Regions from separate parts of the Homo sapiens genome. Here region 1 is linked to region 2. Evidence: promoter capture Hi-C in 16 types of primary human blood cells and fetal thymus (Javierre and others, 2016). All regions are on one chromosome and are shown on one strand. Each heading gives the region's core, a stretch centred on a gene start or on the middle of the fragment in contact. The rest is flanking DNA. Distances are from core to core; before and after follow the strand shown.

What was found. Contacts are between HindIII fragments. The CHiCAGO score rates a contact against its expected background, and 5 or more counts as called.
Region 1: a contact is called between a fragment that was not itself captured here and the fragment with the promoter of AUTS2 in region 2, in 1 of 17 cell types (fetal thymus). The highest score is 6.3, in fetal thymus.

What each region holds. Positions count from the first base shown.
Region 1 is chr7:70,697,646-70,700,350 of GRCh38, reverse strand. AUTS2 (activator of transcription and developmental regulator AUTS2) reads right to left here. Exons shown (of 19, transcript NM_015570.4): 6 at 1,731-1,782. Among named protein-coding and RNA genes, the nearest start is that of GALNT17, 430 kb to the left of the region's middle. RefSeq lists an enhancer at 1-390. The HindIII fragment of the contact is 1,862 bases long and covers 348-2,209 here.
Region 2 is chr7:69,596,926-69,599,797 of GRCh38, reverse strand. AUTS2 (activator of transcription and developmental regulator AUTS2) reads right to left here and starts at 1,323. Exons shown (of 19, transcript NM_015570.4): 1 at 1-1,323. The coding sequence starts at 144. It overlaps CT66 (cancer/testis associated transcript 66), which reads left to right and starts at 2,174. Exons shown (of 3, transcript NR_148927.1): 1 at 2,174-2,751. RefSeq lists silencers at 10-79, 1,244-1,323, 1,344-1,763 and enhancers at 844-893, 2,074-2,153. The HindIII fragment of the contact is 6,527 bases long and covers 1-2,872 here.

The sequences.
Region 1 (2,705 bases), core at 29-2,528, 1.1 Mb before region 2:
CTATGTTGATTTTAGTGTACACAAAGAAACCTTAATCCTTTCAAGGCAACTAAATCACCCCTAGAAAAGCAGCTCAGAAGAAAGGCACCCTGTCAGGGGGAGGGCTATTCACAACCAAATAGATGCCACAAATCACACTCTGTAAGTAAACAAAAATAAGAATGTGGGAAACGTTTGATTGGAAAAGGAAAAAAAGGGGGGGAAAGAACCAGAGGGAAGAGGCAGAGGCGAGCTGTTCATCCGCCCTGAAGACAATCTTTCAGGGCAGTGGCGGCCAGAGTGCAGGTCTTGGAGCCAACTCTTATTCTAGGGCCTGATCCCAGAAAGGGGAAATACATTCCAAAGCTTTCAGTAGCAAATCAGCAGAAGACAGACACAGTCACATGTGGCAGAGGTCCTGGGGGGCTGCAGAAACGAAGAAGCCCTGCCTTTGGTGACCTGCCCTCTACCCCAGTCTCCCTCTCCCATCACCCTCCTTTCTCACAAGGAAACGCCAAGTGGTAGACAATTGTGCATTTTTACACACGAGTACTGTATGCTATGAATGGCACACATCTTCTTTTATTGGGCTTTTAGCATTATGGATAACACATTTATACAAACTTTCAGTCCATCAGAAAATATGATGAAATATAAAACTGGAATACTCCATTATGCAATAAAAAAAGATAAAATTCAATATGACAGTAATTCTGGGAGTAACGGCAATCACATACACCTCAAGGGAACTCTAAACATAATGTACTATTTAAAATTGCAATTGGTTCAAATTCTAAAATAATCTGGGAGCTCAAAATAACTGCACTTGGAAATGTCTTACTAACCAGCTAGCAAAAATGCTAGCCAAGGCAACTACAGAAGGCTGAAATGGTCTCAAATTTCACTTTGTGAAGGCCCAAGTCTGTTCAAGTGCTACCAAGTGTCGCCCATGTAACCCAGAAAGAGATTATCACAGAAAGCACATCTTTACTTAGCAATTATCATGCCAGCCCCTAAATCAGGCTCGACAGTGGAAAGGGGAAGATTAAATAGTTTATATGGTTTGTCCCTTTCAAATTACACACCTTTCAGAGCCAGTGATTACAGACTCCCCTAAATTTCCTTATTTCCAACGATACTGCTAACAAATGAAAGCTGCGCAGAAACCTACTGGCAATGATTTAAGGTTAGTTTTCCCTTAATGTACTGCTATATCATTAGCCTCTCTTACTCTAGATCGTGGTTTGGAAGAAATTAATGGGATAGTGCATATTTAAATTCTGCCCTCTCGCTCGTTTATTAACTTTACAGAAAGCCCACAGCAGAGTAAGGCTTGGTTTATGACCATAATACTGTGAATTCTAAACATCCATTGATTACTGGAGTCTGCAATGCACATCAGCTATTTATATTTCTCCTATTGCTGGGTAGTTGATAAGTAACAATAAAGTTCAGGCATTTTGAGAACTATTCTTCTCGAGTACAGCTTTCTATATTAAAGTCACATAGTAGTAGTGATTAGTCAAATCAGTTTAAATAGGGACTCAATGTATTCTTTTAAAATAAACTGGTTGTTAATGTTAATGCATCACAAAGTATGCAGACTTCCATCTCAAGCAAAAACATGAAACATCAACAGTAGCTTCAGAATTATAAGAGAAAGATCACTCTAGCTCTTCTTTCTTCCTAGGCAATGACAATGAAACTAACATAAAAATAAGCCATTACTCAGGAGAATGAATGGGTCTTACCTTTGTTTACAATAACAGTGTTGAAGAGTTTTTCAGAGCTGGCATCTGATGCCTGAAAAACAAGAAGGGGGAAAAAAGCATTATTATTGTCATTAATATTGTCATCACCATCAACATTCCCATTATTTTAAATCAGTTGACTACATTTTACGAAAGCCTAGCAGGGAAGCAGCAATGTCCCCAAATCATCCATAAGGTGGTGCTAGTTGACTGCTTGAGAGAGACCTGCAGTGCAGCTATTTGCTGGGGGGAAAAAAATCTGATTTTAAAAATGTGTCCTTATTAGACACATTATCTGTGCAAAACATATTTCTATGAGATGATACACAAAGCAATTCAGCTCATTCACATAATGATTTTGCAATTTCGTTGACAGATCATTATTTTGGAAATGTTATGTTTTTCGTGGTATTTGCAGACATGCCAATTTTTCAATTTTCTTTCACAAATCAGAAATGCCTATTATTTAATGCTAAGCTTTTCCTCACTAAAAAGTGTAAGCCAACACTGCCAGAAATTAATTTTTTTTTAAGATTCATCTGATGACTCCAAGATCCCTGTCCCTTGCAGTAACCAAACGACCTTGGTGTTCAAAAAGATGCAAGCCGGCCTGCCCCAAAATCCGACCACTATGCATGCCACCAGCATTATTTCCTTTCCATTTTCTAGAGAACATGTCTGCTAATTATTACAGTGGCTTGAGGAAGGTGAAATAAGCCTGTTTAAACAGTAAAACTAAAGCCAATTTAAATTATACACTAATGTTCTGGAAAATAAACATGGAAGTCGGTTTGAAGGAAAATGCTGTAATGTTTCAGCACTGAATATTTCTAGAACTTGAAAAAATAAAAATTAAGCATCTCCACTACATAACGTGAGGATATATCTGCATTTAAAGTTATAATGGCCAAGCTATATTTGTGCTGTTTTCACTACATAACCCTCATGAGAAATCACTCATCTTTCACACTTGAT
Region 2 (2,872 bases), core at 74-2,573:
GAGTGAGAGCGCCCGGGTCCGGCCAGCCCCGCCGCCGCCGGCCGCGCCGGCCCCCAGCCCGCCCCGGGAGCGCCTCTCCCGGTCTCGCTGCGACCGCGACCGCCGCTTTTTGCGGAGTCCATGGCCCCGCGTCGGGCCATCCATGGTTCTGCTGCGCCGGGGTCTCCCCGCTTGCCCGCCACAGGCTACGGCCGCAGCCACACAAAAAAAAATTGACACCGAGCCCTCCCTCCCCCTTCACGGCTTCCCTCCGCCCCGAGGAGGGCGCGGGGGAGACGGCGGCCGAAAGAAGGGAGAGAGGGGAAGAAAGAGAGGAGAAAGAAAAGGGGGAAGGGGCGGAGAGAGGGGAGGAGGGACGGGGAGCGAGGGCGAGAGGCGAGGAGCCCAAGTGTGGGGCTCCCCACAGCACCGAGGGTCGGAGATGCCTGGGAGCAGCGCCGAGCAAAGTAATGGCTGAACACACAGGTCTCCTTTAGAGGAAAAAAAAATAACTCACCAAGCAAGCAATAAATCAGAATAGCGGAATGCTTTGATCAAGAGACTGGGAGGCTCCGGGGAGCCCTCCCCGCGGCCATTCTCCGCCGCGCCCCCCGCCCCCCGAAAACGCCCGCGCCCCCCTCAACTCGATCCAAAATCGGGTCCGAAAAAGGTCGCGGGAAAAGTGGGGGCAATGAACTTCACCCGCCCCTCGCGCAGGAAAACACCCCCGCCGCCTCTCACACACGCCTCGGAGAAAACTCACTCCCAGGCTCCCAAATTTTTAAGAAATGCAGCCAGGGGAGGCCGGGGCTCCGGAGCGACCCAAGAGGGGCGAGACCCCCCAGAGAGGGGAGCATAATAATGCAATCATTAGCGGAAGAGAGGGCGAAACTGCGAGCGGCGGAGGAGAAGGGAGGCGGAGGAAGGGAAGGAGGATGCTGCTGGAGCAGTTGTGGGGTTTGCTTTTCGGTCTTCGAGGGGGGAGGAGAGGGAGATGAAAGAAGAGAAGAAGCAAACCCTGTCGCTGCCACCCGCCCCCCTCCTCACAAAAATATTTTTTCCAGTCCCAGAGAAGAGGTCACCCTTCCTCAAAAAAGGGAGGGGGTGAGTCAGTCAGTCGATGAGGAAAGCAGAAAGAAATCTCCAGCGGGAGAGACACCGGTGTGCCGCCGCCGCCGCCGCCGCTTCTCTCGCCGCCCCGCCTGAGGGAGAAGCGCAGCCGGGAACGCTGCTCTCGCCGCCGCCGCTAACGCTGCTGCTGCTGCCGCCGCCGCCGCCGAGAAAGCCCCGAGCCGGAGGGTGCACGGCGTGTCCCCGGGCGGCTGCAGCGGGAGCCCGGGCACTGCCCCATCCTCCGCCCGCCCGCCTGCCTCGCGCAGCTCCCGCTCCTCCCCCTCCGCGGCCAGCCCACCGCCGCCGCCGCCGCCGCCGCCCGCCTCAGCCCAACCCCGCGCCCGCCCGCTCGCTCGCTCGCTCGCTCGCTCGTTCGTGCTTTCGCTCGCTCGCTCGAGTGCGCGCGCTCCCGCGCACCCGCCCTCCCCGCGCCTCTCTCGGCGCGCGCTCCCGCCCCCGCGGCCCCGGCCGGCGGGATCACGTGGACGGCTGGGCTCCCTCCTCCCCCGCCCCCTCCCCAGTTGTAGAGTGTGTAGAAAGCAAAAGGCTGGGGGCTGGCCGCGCTCGCGAGCCCAGGGCATGCGCGCTGGGGCGGCCGGGCCTGCGCACTGGGGGCGGTGGGGAGCTGTGAGGGGGGCGGGGGCGGGGGCGTGGAGGGGGCGCCCGCGTGGGGTCGGCCGCGGCCGGGCAGAGTTGGCGCGCCAGGGCGTGGAAGCCGCCGGAGGATCCCGCCTGTCGCAGCGGGGACGCGTGTGGGCCCCTGCTCCCAGGCCACTTCGCGCGCGCGCCCCCCACATCCTCCTCGGGACACTTGTCCCTGGATCCTCTACCCCTGGCCGGCCCGAGGCCGCCTTCTCGGGAAGCCCCACCAGCCCCCAAGGGTGTTTTCCCTTGGCTACCTGCGCTGCGAGGAGAGAAGGGAATTCAGAGAAGGGGTACAAGGGGGGCGTCCCTGGGAGGGGGCGCGACTGGAGGAGACAGAACGGGGAGCGGGTGCCAAAGCGCGGGCCTTTGCTCCGCCTGGGCGCAGTGGGAGCACCAACTGGCAGAGTTGGAAACTTTTCCTCCACGTGGCACCACAGTGCGTGGACGAGCGACCCCGCGCCCGGATGACCCCTGGGATTCCCGCCTCGTCTTCCAGCGGGGGACCTAGGGACGCACGGGCGGCTTCAGATCCGGGAGCGCGAGGCCTAACAGCCGGGGGCCGAACTTGAACCTCGGAGGCGGCCGCGGGCGAGGGGCGGGGCCGAAGGGGCCGGGACCGCCGCCCCAGCTCGAGGACCCGTTAGACCGGCAAACCGCAGTCCCTGCCCCGCGGGCTTCCTTTACTTTTTGGGAGTGGGGGGCGGTTTCCCTGCTTTTTCCACCACAGCCCCTCCTCCCGCCGCAATGTGGCTGATGCTCATAAAAAGTTGTATTAAAGAGCTGACTGCAGCCGAGAATCGATCAACAAAAGCGACCAGCCTCTCTGGGTAAAATAGCTGTGCGTTTTTCAGGGCACTGGAATTGATCTATACGGATCAGAAAGACCGACAGCCCGCTCTCAGCAGCCTCTTGGATACGCTTCACTTTCTGTCCAGGCACATAAACACCACGGCACCAACCCTTCGTCCTCCCTAGTAGCCCATACTTGTGGAGGAAGAAAAGGAAAATAAACTGGCATGTATTAATTACAATGGGCCAGGCACCGTGCTAGAGCGCTGTGTATATGATTTCACCTCTTTAGAATACAAATGTGCACATTTTATTAGTATTACTGGAAGGAGGGTGGTAGAGAAAA